2 separate regions of the Homo sapiens genome follow, and region 1 is linked to region 2. The links are contacts of gene promoters, found by promoter capture Hi-C in blood cells and fetal thymus (Javierre and others, 2016). All regions are on one chromosome and are shown on one strand. The core of a region is centred on a gene start or on the middle of the fragment in contact, and the rest is flanking DNA. Distances in the headings are between cores, read along the strand shown.

What was found. Contacts are between HindIII fragments. The CHiCAGO score rates a contact against its expected background, and 5 or more counts as called.
Region 1: the fragment with the promoter of AHNAK here is called in contact with a fragment that was not itself captured in region 2 in 3 of 17 cell types (naive B cells, naive CD4 T cells and total CD8 T cells); the score reaches 6.2 in naive B cells.

Annotation. Positions count from the first base shown.
Region 1 is chr11:62,543,319-62,549,595 of GRCh38, forward strand. It overlaps AHNAK (AHNAK nucleoprotein), which reads right to left and starts at 3,488. Exons shown (of 5, transcript NM_001620.3): 1 at 3,342-3,488. RefSeq lists enhancers at 1,995-2,505, 2,506-3,016, 3,595-4,125 and silencers at 2,160-2,289, 2,820-2,939, 2,950-2,999, 3,280-3,349, 3,470-3,639. The HindIII fragment of the contact is 5,633 bases long and covers 1,396-6,277 here.
Region 2 is chr11:62,881,812-62,888,193 of GRCh38, forward strand. SLC3A2 (solute carrier family 3 member 2) reads left to right here. Exons shown (of 9, transcript NM_001013251.3): 2 at 82-255; 3 at 1,097-1,188; 4 at 2,646-2,714; 5 at 2,821-2,879; 6 at 3,366-3,546; 7 at 3,654-3,797; 8 at 6,324-6,382. Among named protein-coding and RNA genes, the nearest start is that of SLC3A2, 4.1 kb to the left of the region's middle. RefSeq lists enhancers at 1-560, 1-76. The HindIII fragment of the contact is 1,760 bases long and covers 983-2,742 here.

The DNA.
Region 1 (6,277 bases), core at 2,238-4,737, 340 kb before region 2:
ATCCTCTGCCTCCAAGCCCGATGACAACGCAGGCAGAGGTGACACATCCAGGCACGCCACAAGGGGAAGACCTTCATTCACAACCAGTGGGATACTCTCTCACAGGCAATGACACACATCTCACTCAGAGACAAGCTGTGACATGGTGGTCACAAGGACCTAAAGCCACAGTGGGACGACACCTGCAATGCTATCAGTGACCTACCTAAGACTGCCAGCGACAGCTCAGCCACAGCCCTGGTGGGAACTGAGGCCAGCAGGGAGGAAAAGGGGCTTCATTCCTTCGGAATCCTCTTGTGGCCCACCCACGTGCCCCCCACACTCCCTCGGGCACACCCAGGAACGCTGGAAATTGCTCGTGCTCAGGAAGCCTTGGGAGTCCCACCGGATGGCCTGAGCCCAGGGAAATGCCAGCCTGGATGAATCGATGGGGGACGAAGAGAAGTCAGAAGGCCCTCCATCCCTGCCACTGCCACCGCCCAAGCAGCACATTCTAAATCCTCCCCAGCGGCCATCACCCTTCCTCAAACCTAAGCGTGCACAGCACGGTGCCAGCCCAGCTCCGGGGAGAGAAACTTTGGGGCCTCGGGAATGGTGGGGGAGAGAGCCACACTGTTCCCATAAGGAGTAGGACTAGCTCTCCCGGTCTGTCTCTCTGTCTGTCTCCAGGCAGTTCCCAAGTTCTAAAGAAGGTGGTGACCACACCCCAGAGCCCCACACACCCCTCCGCCCCCACGGCTTTGCCCCAACCCCTCAAACCAGCTCCTCAGGCTCAGGGTGACCGGCTCTGCCAGGACCCACCAGCCAATTCCAAGTCGAGCAAAAGAATCCAGCCTGGCAGCACCGCCACCTTTCCCCAGGACTTCCTGAGGGCTAAGATGACTCCGGGGACCCCCAGCCAACTCCGTACCCTGGGCTGACGCTGGACCTTCTCCCTCAACAGGTCCCTGTGTCCCACCCCTGGCCCTGGACCATGTCTGGCTGCCACAAGTCCTCAGCTCCGAGGGGTTGGCTCCTCAAGGAGTTCCCGGACCAGGACCCCTGAATCGCTGCTGTGGGCCTCCATATCAGCCCGCATGACTTATGTGGCTCCCCATGTGTCCCTGTTCTCTGACCAGTGTCCCTGTGCATAACCTCTTAGGGACAAAGGCTTTAGAGAGGGGCTCAGACACCCTCTAACCCACATTCCCACAGCCCCCAAACCCTGCGACCTCTCCTAGCTCCACTCTTACCCTCCCTAGCTCCTCTCCCACCCTCCCTCACCCCAAAGCTCACAGCTCAGAGCAAAGAGGTGCCCCTAACTTGGGGGCTCCCCTGTCCTCCCCATTCTGCACAGGCCACTATCCACGCGGTGGGGGGTGGGTGACCCCGCTGTCCCTAAGGACTGGAGAAGGAAGCTTCCCCCCATTCAGCTTCTGAAAGGAAGTGAGTGCCACACCCTGCCCCTGGGATTTCCCTCACGGGGAGGGGATGAAAGCGAGATCTCTACCCTGAATTACAGCCAGTATAGGTGCAGGGGCCCTTAAACGCCTTCCCCCACTCTCAGCTTCACTGCTGCAGCCCCTCACTGTATTCCACAAAATCAACCCAACACCTACCATGCACTAGGCTGTGCTGGGACGGGCAAGCAGAGAGCAGGAGCCCTGCAATCCGAGGTTGGATTCTAATGAAGACGGGTTCGAAACCAGTATTTACTGAGCGCCCAGCGCTGTGCTGGAGACACAGAGGTAGATATCTCGGTCCCTTTTCCTCCGGAGACTCCGGAGGTCTAAGGACCTGACTGACTTGGGAGGCTCCCACACTGCCTTTCCACAAATCCCCTCCACAGAGCAGGGCACTCTGCAGCGACCGCACGCTCCCTGGGAGCACCTCACTGCCACGGTCGCCGCGGCGGGAGCCACACCCTGCGAAACCGGCAAGCACACACATCGCACACAACCCTCAGTGGCCTCATTGTGCAGAGGGGCCAGAGCCGTTCCCCACCTTGTTGTGGGGCCTCGGCTACAGCTGAGAACACCCATCTGCCCCCTCCGCACCCCTCCCAGCAAGGGGCACAGCCAGCCCTGTTTGGGCCCCTGGAGTCCCTCATGGTCAGCGCCGCCAAGGGGCTGCGCCCCCACATCCCGGCCTGGGCACTGCTGGGGGGCGACCAGCCCTGCCAGGGACGGCCCAGGCCCTCGCACACTGCACACACACACCCCCTCCCCTTGCATGGGAAAGCCTTACATAACACAGCTCTGCACACACCCTAAGCACGCTGCCTTTCCAACTCTAGGCGAGACCTCGCTTCGGGCCCCCTCTCCTGGCGCGCACCGCTGGAGCGCAGGGTTCCAGCGAGCGCAGCTTAGCCCTCCTCCCACGCCAAGCCCGGCTCCTGCCCCCAACTCCCACACACAGCCCCTTCCTCCTCCCCTTTGCCCCTCACCACTCCTCCCTGAGTTCTGGTTTGAATTAGTCACCGGCTCCAACCACCACATTCCTCAGGCTGCTGGCGCCGGGCCAGGCTCTGGGGCGGGGGCCATCCCGCCCGGACGGGTTTGGGAGTTGGGCGGGGGGAAAGCGCCGCCTCCGGAGGGGAAGGGGCGGTCCCGAGGACTGGGCCGCCGCAGCGCACCCCCCTCCTCGCCCACCTCAGCATAGGAATCTCCCTAATTTTGTCCCCCTCCCCACCCATCCCGCTGGGAGGCGCATTGCAAACTTCCAGGTTCCGCGGCCCGAGAGGAAGGTTTTCTGGAGCGGGGAACGCGGAGAGGCAAGGCTAGGGCGGGGCAGCTGGAGGAGGCTGAGGGGCTGGTGGTACAGAACAGGGTGGGGCCTGGACGACTCGGGACGCGGTTAGGGGCAGAGGTGCAGGGAGCGCGGAAGGACAGCCGAGGGGGCGCACGGTGCGGGGTCGCGGAGGCGCGGAGGCGCTGGGGGCCGCGGTGGCGATCTCGGAAATTTCCCCTCCAGTAAACATGGGATACGAACGGAGCAGCCCCCGAGCCACCGCCCCATGCAGGGAGAGGAGGTGGGACAGAGGCCACCAGGCCCGGAACGGGGCGCCCTGCCTTGCAGTGGAGCCAACAGTCCGCCCTCCGGAGAAATAAAGAGTGGAGCAAAGCACTTCGGAGCGATTTTCCAACTTTAACCAACTTGCGCCCCAACTCCAGAGGCAGAACTCCGCTCCCAGAGAGCGACGCGTCGCCGCCCCGGGTGGCCCCGCTTGCTCCAAACTGCTTGAATCCTCACAGTGACACCCCCAACAACGCGCCCTGCCGGAGCACCGCAACCCACCTCCCCGCGACCCGCCCTTGGTGCCCCGGACCCCGATGGCGCCACGGTGCGCCTGGCGCCCCTACCTGAGGGCTCAGCCCCAGGGCACGGCCATAGCCGGCGCGAGGCCCAAGGCTGCGGTGCTGCGGCTACTGGCGGCGACGAGCCCCGTTCCGGGCGGGTCTGGCAGGGCGGGCGGTGCAGTCCCCGCGGCAGAGCAGCTCCGAGTGGCCGGGCCCCCGTGCGCGGAGGCGGCTCTTGTAACTCCGGCTCGGGCGGGCGGGTCTGCCCGGAGCTGTGGGGAGAGGGCGGGGCCGGGCGGGGCCGGAGCGGGGCTGGGACTGGCGAGCGGGGCAGACCCTGGAGGGACCCGGGAGTGGGCTGCTGGGGAGGGGGGCCGCTGGGGGACGCGGGGACATTCTTTCCCCCCCTCCCCGCATCCACTGCCCCCTGTCCTGTCCCGGACCTGGACCTGCTCTCCAACATGTGCACTGTGTGGCTTCATTGGCAAGAAACTCCTGCAGGCTCCCTGGGCTCACCCTCACAGCTGGAACTGCGAATCAACTTATTTTGCAGGAAGGGCCTGGGGGCTCTGAAGGTGGCTGGGTGATTCAGCCGCGACCGTCAGCTTGCTCCGGACCTTTGAGTTTTCTCTCAGCTTAGGCAACTACACTTCAGATCCCAGGCCCCAGCCTCCTTGCTTGGTTCCCAAGCTCCGTGCTGCCGCGCCCATTTCTCGCGTTCTCTCTTTCTGGGGGCCCCTCCGTCCATATCCGCACAGAACTGGCTTGGATTTCCACCCCCCAGGAGCCGGGGTCACCAGTGCCTCGCGCACCGCGGTGCTGCGCAGGCCGCGGGCATACGGGGGTGAGGACCCCGGGCGTTGGACAGCGGACCCGACGCCCACCTTCCTCTCCAGACTCCCGCCCCCAGGAGCCAGAGCCCCAGCGCTTCCTCTGCCTCCCATTCCTTCTCTGAGCGCCGCCCCCGCCTCCCCACTTGCGGGACGCTGAGTCTCCTAATTTACAGCGATTTCCCACAGCCACTTCTAACTACATCGAGATTTTATTAAACGTTTAATGATGGGGTGCGGGGGCCTTCTGGCTACACACTCCCCTCCACACTCCCTTTCTCTTCTCCCTCATGAGTCCTTTTATCCTCCCTCCTAGGTGGCCACCCACTGCCCGCTCCAAGCCAGTTTCCCCTCCTTCCCAAATGCTAAGGAAAGAGAGACCCCAGGCTGGGGAACTAAGGAGACCTGGCCAAGGCAGGAGCGCCCTCCTTGCTGCAAGATCATGAGTGGGCTGGAGCTGAGACCAGCTCGGCCCTGTCCTCTGAAATGGCAAACATGTTTACAGGCTAAAAATACCCAGCAGTCAACTCTGCTGCCAGCCCTGGGGGCTGTGTCCAGGTCCAGTTACCGGCACAGAGTACAGGCCGTGGGGGAGGGAAGAGACAGCCAGAGGAACCACAGACATGGGCACTCATATAATGGACACAGAAAGGTGGAGCCGCATGTGCAGACATCCAGACAGGCAGAGACATGTGAAAACACAAAGCGGAGACTTGGGCACCAGCATTTTCTCTTGCTCTCTCTAATACACACACACAGGTGCCCAGATAATGACTCAACCCCATGGCAGAGGCAGCCTCGCCACAACACATCCCAAGCACACAGTCACAGACTCACACTTTCCCAAGAATCACCTGCTCCCCCATTTTGTTCTGCACCCCTTTCCTAGCACCTACCTTATTTAAAGAAAAAACAAATCTAAAACTTTTGAGCTATAGAACACTTAAAAAAAAATTACCAAGGCCAGGCGCGATGCCTCACACCTGTAATTCCAGCACTTTGGGAAGCCAAGGCAGGTGGATCACTTGAGCTCAGGAGTTCGAGACCAGCCTGGCCAACATAGTGAAACCCCGCCTCGACTAAAAATACAAAAATTAGCAGGGCATGGTGGCGCAGCCTGTAATCCCAGCTGCTCGGGAAGCTAAGGCAGGAGAATCCCTTAAACTTGGGAGGCAGAGGTTGCAGTGAGCCAAGATCGTGCCACTGCAGTCCAGCCTGGGTGACAGAGCGAGACTCCATCTCAAAAAAAAAAAAGTACAATAAAACACAGACTTCTCCCTCCTCCCCTATCACAGTCCCTCTTCCCAAAAGTAACCATTGTTAACAGTTTACCAAAGGATTTTTAACTTTATGGAATGAATCATCATCTCGTTCCTTGAAAGAGCGAATGTTCCCAGTGCATATTAAAACAGGAGTTGATTCACACCTAGGTTGGAAACACAGGGTATCTGCAAAAAGGGCTAAGGGGGCGTGGGGGGCTGCTAGAGCAGAAAAGGAAGAAGAGCACGGAAAGGCGTGGACGCTGTGTCTTCGCCTCGACTGGGCTAGATCGGCCCCCCAGGATCCAAACAGCAGAGGCCAGAGTCCCAGGCTCAGAGCCAACTTATCTGCTCCATTGTTTGTTCTGGCCACCCTCTTGGTCAACAGGGAAGAAGGCAGGAGGGAGAGGTTGGTTTTTGAAGCAGCCCCAGAGCAGAGATCACTGACCAGGTACTTCATTCAGGGATATGAATGTCAAGATTACCTGGTCGGGGGGTAGTTCTGAGGACTGGCTCTTGTCCCATTCCAGACTGGAGGGCTAGAGAAGGCTTAACCTCAACCCTACCCTCTAAAAAACCATGATCCTGACCGGGGGCGGTGGCTCACGCTTGTAATCTCAGCACTTTGGGAGGCTGAGCGGGGGCAGATCATGAGGTCAAGAGATCGAGACCATCCTGGCCAACATGGTGAAACCCCGTCTTTCCTAAAAATATAAAAATTAGCACTTTGGGAGGCCGAGGCAGGCGGATCACCTGAGGTCAGGAGTTCAAGACCAGCCTGGGCAACATGATGAAACCCCGTATCTACTCAAAATACAAAAATTAGCCGGGCATGGTGGTGTGCGCCTGTAGTCCCAGCTACTCGGGAGGCTGAGGCAGGAGAATCGCTTGAACCCAGGAGGTGGAGGTT
Region 2 (6,382 bases), core at 613-3,112:
TTAGGCGCTGGGAGAAGGGAGGGTGGGGAGGTCAGGGGCCTCTCAGAGGGGCCTCACTTGTTAACCCAGCCCCCATTTCAGGTCTGAAGGGGCGTCTCGATTACCTGAGCTCTCTGAAGGTGAAGGGCCTTGTGCTGGGTCCAATTCACAAGAACCAGAAGGATGATGTCGCTCAGACTGACTTGCTGCAGATCGACCCCAATTTTGGCTCCAAGGAAGATTTTGACAGTCTCTTGCAATCGGCTAAAAAAAAGAGTGGGTATCCTGGGGTTCCCAAGGAAACAGCTAGAAAGGACTTGGCCAGAGGAAAAGTAGGCTAGAACTTTTGTCTGGTTTCCTGCTAACTGGCTCTGAGTTTTCCTAGGGCAGGTAGAGGGGAGATTTGTTAGTCTTCAGCCTAAAATGGATTTGTCCAGTCGTCTGGGGGCTTTCTACTTGGCTGTGGAATCTTGAGCAGGTCATTTAACTTCTGGGCTTCAGTGCCCTTATTTGCAAAATATAGATATTTACTAAACCAGTGGTTTTAAACTTGTAAAACAGTAGGTTTTTTTGGGGGGGGGGAATCCCAAATATTGTTTTACGACTCGATATAGACACATGTTTAAAAAGGTTCACTTTGGGAGTGGGGAACACAGGGGCCACTTCTCTGCACTATAAACTTTCTGCCTTCCAATATCTTTTTTTTTTTTTGAGATGGAGTCTCACTCTTGTCACCCAGGCTGCAGTGCAGTGGAACGATCTCAGCTTACTGCAGCCTCCTCCCCCAGGGTTCAAGCGATTCTCGTGCCTCAGCCTCCTGAGTAGCTGGTACTACAGCCGTGTGCCACCACACCCAGATAATTTTTTTATTTTTAGTAGAGACAATTTTCAACATGTTGACCGGTCTGGTTTTGAACTCGCCTGGCCTGCCTTCCCATATCTTAAGGCCCTTCCTTGCTCACATCTGTTTCAATGGAATGAATTTTGCCCGGGTTCAAATTCAAGCTTTTGTACCAAGTAATACATAGGAAACACTCAGTGACTTGCATTTGTGATTTCCTTATTTTCCCTTAACTCATAGACTGTCTCATGATTGCGTCTTCCTCCGTTGTTTTAGGCATCCGTGTCATTCTGGACCTTACTCCCAACTACCGGGGTGAGAACTCGTGGTTCTCCACTCAGGTTGACACTGTGGCCACCAAGGTGAAGGTGAGTGTTGGAGCTGATGGCTGGTGGAAGTCAGATGCTGGGGCTGGGACAGTCCTTTCACAGCAAGCCCTGTAGACCCAGCCTGACTCCAGCTGAGGGTCCCTTTGCTCCTTAGGACCAAGGAGGAATGCCTCCTCCTATAGCCAAAGGATAGGCCAATAGCACACCTGTTTTTCTTGTTCCTTTTCTGACCTCTTATTTTTCTTATTTCCTTGACTCTGAGGATGAGACAGTGCCAGGAAGGGACCTTCTCAGAAGTCAGTCTGGAAGTTTGATTTTTCTTTCTTTTGGGAGAGGAAGCCCTTTCTCTGTGAGAATCCTGTCCTGACTGGTTTCCCAGTTCTTGTTTGATGTGTTTGGAATAGAGCCCAGTCTGAAATTATAAGCACTGGGGTACTCCTATGTGTCTGGGACTCTATGCCAAGTATTTTATAGATGTTTTCTAATTCTCTGTATAACCATACAAGGTATATAATTTGCCATAGGTTCAAATGTGTACCCAGCAGGCTAGGAGTAGGGCTTTGAATGTCACCTAGCTCCTGATGTCTGGGTCCTAGGACACTGACCTGTTCAGAATGGGTAGAACAAAAATGGAAGCAGATACTGACACTGCTGGTAGCTGTGATTCTAAGATAGAATTCTGGACTCCCAGCATTTGGGTAGGACCCCGGGATCATCCAGTTTAGGCCTTGCCAGTTACTAGGGGACCCTTTAAAAGTTGCTGATGAGGGAATGTTTTTGGATGGTTTGGCATGAGGGGCGGTACCCTCAGATGGAAATGGAGACCAGAGGAGAGAGTACATGGCCCAGAGAAAGGGAAGAAAAGGAGAATGGGGGTGAAGTTCCACAGTGTGTGCAGGACTGCCAGGATTCCATTCAGCAGCACTGGCCTCTTTTCAAATCTAAACTGCCCTGGGGCTATGCTTTGAATTTCAATCTTTCATCCTTGGCCTTGCTCTGAGCAGTTATTGTACTCACACCTTCCCCAGGCCTCAGGAAACTGGGAGAGGGGGGATCTTGACTGACATTTTAGATCCTGTCTGCTGCTCACTGATTATGACTGTGGACGCGTCTCCCTGCTTCTCTGGGTCTGTTTCTTCATCTCTAAAATAGGTATGCTAACATTCCAATGCTAAGTGTTAAACGAAGTTATGTTTATGGACATACCTTTTCTCTGGGGCCTTTTCTGTGGCTTTCAAAGTTGAAGCTGTGTGATTTGCCAGAGGCAAGAATGAGAAGTAAAATGCTGTAGCACTAAGAAAATGAGTGGAAGGGTAGAGCTGGAGGGGTCCAAAGGCTAAGCCTTTGTAGTGCAGGTGGGGAAGACCCAGGCAAGGCACAGGACTCTCCCCAGCTCCCGGGGAAGTGTGTGGTGGGTGAGGTTTAGTGTGGGCTGGAATTTTCTGAGCCTTTTCCTGAGAACTGATGTCTGTCCTTTATTCTTCTGCCCCCTATAGGATGCTCTGGAGTTTTGGCTGCAAGCTGGCGTGGATGGGTTCCAGGTTCGGGACATAGAGAATCTGAAGGTGAGTTCCCTTTCCACATTAGGGACAAAGCTTGGGCGAGAACAGAGGGACTCAGCTAGAGCCTCATAATATTCTCTGGTCCTTGATTCTGCTTTTTTCTTTCTAGGATGCATCCTCATTCTTGGCTGAGTGGCAAAATATCACCAAGGGCTTCAGTGAAGACAGGTGGGTGCAGGAGCCATTCTGCTGACTCAGCTCCAATGTGGGAACCCCTCAGTGGAGTGCTAGGCCTAAGAAGGGGGGATTCCTAGTCTAGAGCATTTTCTTTACCTTTATTCTTTCTTTAGCTTTTTTTTTTTTTTTTTTTTTTTTTTTTTTTTTTTGAGATGGAGTTCCGCTCTTTTTGCCCAGGCTGGGGTGCGATGGCGTGATCTTGGCTCACTGCAACCTCTGCCTCCTGGGTTCAAGCGATTCTCCTGCCTCAGCATCCCAAGTAGCTGGGATTACAGACGCGGGCCACCACACCTGGCTAATTTTGTATTTTTAGTAGAGACGGGGTTTCTCCATGTTGGTCAAGCCAGTCTCGAACTCCTGACCTCAAGTGATCCACCCGCCTCAGCCTCCCAAAGTGTTGGGATTACAGGCGTGAGCCACTGCGCCTGGCCCCATTCTTTCTTGTGCTAACCTTGAACTCCTCCCTCCCCTCTGCAGGCTCTTGATTGCGGGGACTAACTCCTCCGACCTTCAGCAGATCCTGAGCCTACTCGAATCCAACAAAGACTTGCTGTTGACTAGCTCATACCTGTCTGATTCTGGTTCTACTGGGGAGCATACAAAATCCCTAGTCACACAGTATTTGAATGCCACTGGCAATCGCTGGTGCAGCTGGAGTGTGAGTACCATGCTGGTGGGAAAGGGGGCAGATGGGAGAAGAAAGGGTTGTTGGGAGACAGAGGCAGAGGTGGGTTATGGGGCTCACTGGAGTGTCTCTCCCTGTAGTTGTCTCAGGCAAGGCTCCTGACTTCCTTCTTGCCGGCTCAACTTCTCCGACTCTACCAGCTGATGCTCTTCACCCTGCCAGGGACCCCTGTTTTCAGCTACGGGGATGAGATTGGCCTGGATGCAGCTGCCCTTCCTGGACAGGTACTGCTTGCTGTCTTTCTGTCACAGGGAGGTTGTTTATCCATCTTACAATGATGATTCTGGGGATGGCGGCACATAGACGTGAGCCTTGGGGTGAAAACGCGTTTGATTCTTAGTCAGTAGCTGAGTGGCTATGTGGCTTTGGGCAAATTATTTTACCTTTCTGAATTTTGGTCATCCCTTGTGTTACTGCATTTCTTGAAGGGTGGTTAGTATTAAATGAGGGCATGTTTTTAATGGTAATGCCTGGTACCTGGCAGATGTTTGCTATGGTAGCCACCATTCATTTATTCATTCCTTTATTCTTTGGACAGTGGGTACTGTGCTAGGCTCTGTGCCCTCAGGAGCTCATAGTTTAGTGAGGGAGCCAGATAAATAAGTGGAGAAGTACATGGCAGTGGCTGGGCACGGTGGCTCATGCCTGTAATCCTAGCACTTTGGGAGTCCAAGGTGGGTGGATCACTGGAGGTAAGGAGTTCGAAACCAGCCTAGCCAACAGGGTGAAACCCAGTCTCTACTAAAAATACAAAAATTAGCCAGGTGTGGTGGTGCACGCCTGTAGTCCCAGCTACTGGGGAGGCTGAGGCAAGAGAATCGCTTGAACCTGGAGGCAGAGGTTGCAGTGAACTGAGATTGTGCCACTGCACTTTAGCCTGGGCGGCAGAGGGAGACTCCTTCTCCAAAAAAAAAAAGAAAAGAAAAGAAAGAAAGAAATACATGGTAGGGATACTACTACAAAGGCATTCACTAGCTTTAGATACAGGGTTACTGTTGATCCCCGACTTTTTTTTTTTGTTTGTTTGTTTGTTTTTTGTTTTTGTTTTTAAGACAGCATTTCCCTATGTCGCCCAGGCTGGAGTGCAGTGGCATGATCTTGGTTCATTGCAGCCTCCGCCTCCCAGGCCGAAGTGATCATCCCACCTCAGCCTCCTGAGTAGCTGGGATATGTACCATAGATAGGTGCGTGCCATCATGCCCAGCTGATCTTTTTTTTTTTTGGAGACAGGTTCTTGCTCTGTTGATCTGGCTGGATTGCAGTGGTGCGATTATGTCTCACTGCAACCTCTGCCTCTTGGGTTCAAGTGATACTCCTGCCTCAGCTTCCCAAGTAGCTGGGAATACAGGTGGTCTGGGAATACAGGCACACACCACCATGCCCGGCTAATTTTTGTAGAGACAGGCTTTCACTGTTGTTGCCCAGGCTGGTCTCCAACTCCTGGGCTCAATCGCTCTGCCTGCCCTGATCTCCCAAATTGCTGGGACTACAGGTGTGAGCCACTGTGCCTGGCCACAGCTAATTTTTAAAATTTGTAGAGGTGTGGTCTCACTATGTTGCCCAGGCTGTTCTCAAACTCCTGGGTGCAAATGATCCTCCCACCTTGGCCTCCCAAACTGCTATGATTACAGGTGCGAGCCACTGCACCCGGCCATCAGCATGATGTTTATAGAACCAGTTATTCATTTATTCCACAGATGTTTATAGAATAATTTCTGTCTGTTACACTGAGGATACAGCATTGCACAAGAGAGCTGGAGGTGGTTAGATAATTAGATATGCATAAATAAAACGCCAGCTGCTGATCAGTGCTATGCAAAAGAAGGCGGGGTAAGGAGCCTAGAGACTAGGGGATGATGGGGCTTGTTTTATAGAGAGTAGCCATAGGAGACCTGGTAAGATAACCAAGCAGATACCTGAGGGAAGTGAGAGAGCTGGCTGGCAGCCATCTGGGAGCTCTTGGCTGAGGGGCAACAGTGTATGTGTGAGGACCCTGAGGTGGGAGCCTGCCTCACTCATCCAGTAGAAGTTAGCCAGGCCGGGTGTCGTGGCTTATGCCTGTAATCCCAGCACTTTGGGAGGCCAAGGTGGGTGGATCACCTGAGGTCAAGAGTTCGAGACCAGCCTAGCCAACATGGTGAAACCCCGTCTTTACTAAAAATACAAAAAAATTAGCTGGGTGTGGTGGTGCACACCTATGGTCAGCTACTGGGGAGGCTGAGGCAGGAGAATCGCTTGAACCCAGGAGGCAGAGATTGCAGTAAGCCAAGATCGTGCCATTGCACTCCAGCCTGAACAGAGCGAGACTCCGTCTCAAAAAAAAAAAAAAAAAAAAGTTAGCCAGACATGAGTTGGGGAGGTTATATATTGATGAGGATGTGAATGGGAAGAGGGATACGGGACAGTGGGCCCAGGGCTTTTTTTTTGAGACAGGGTCTCACTCTGTTGCCCAGGCTGGAGTACAGTGGTGGAGTCATGGCTCACTGCAAGCTCAAACTCCTGGGTTCAAGTGATCCTCCCTCCTCAGCCTCCCCAGTATCTGGGACTATAGGGATGTAACACTACACCCAGCTAATTTTTAAAAATTTTGTAGTAGAGATGAGGGCTCATTATGTTGCTGAGGCTGGTTTCAAATGCCTGGGCTCAAGCAATCCTCTTGGCCTTGACCTCCCAGACTGCTGGAATTACAGATGTGAGCCACCATGCCTGACCCCAGGCCTTTTTAAAGTCCTATTTTCTCTGCTTTTCAGCCTATGGAGGCTCCAGTCATGCTGTGGGATGAGTCCAGCTTCCCTGACATCCCAGGGGC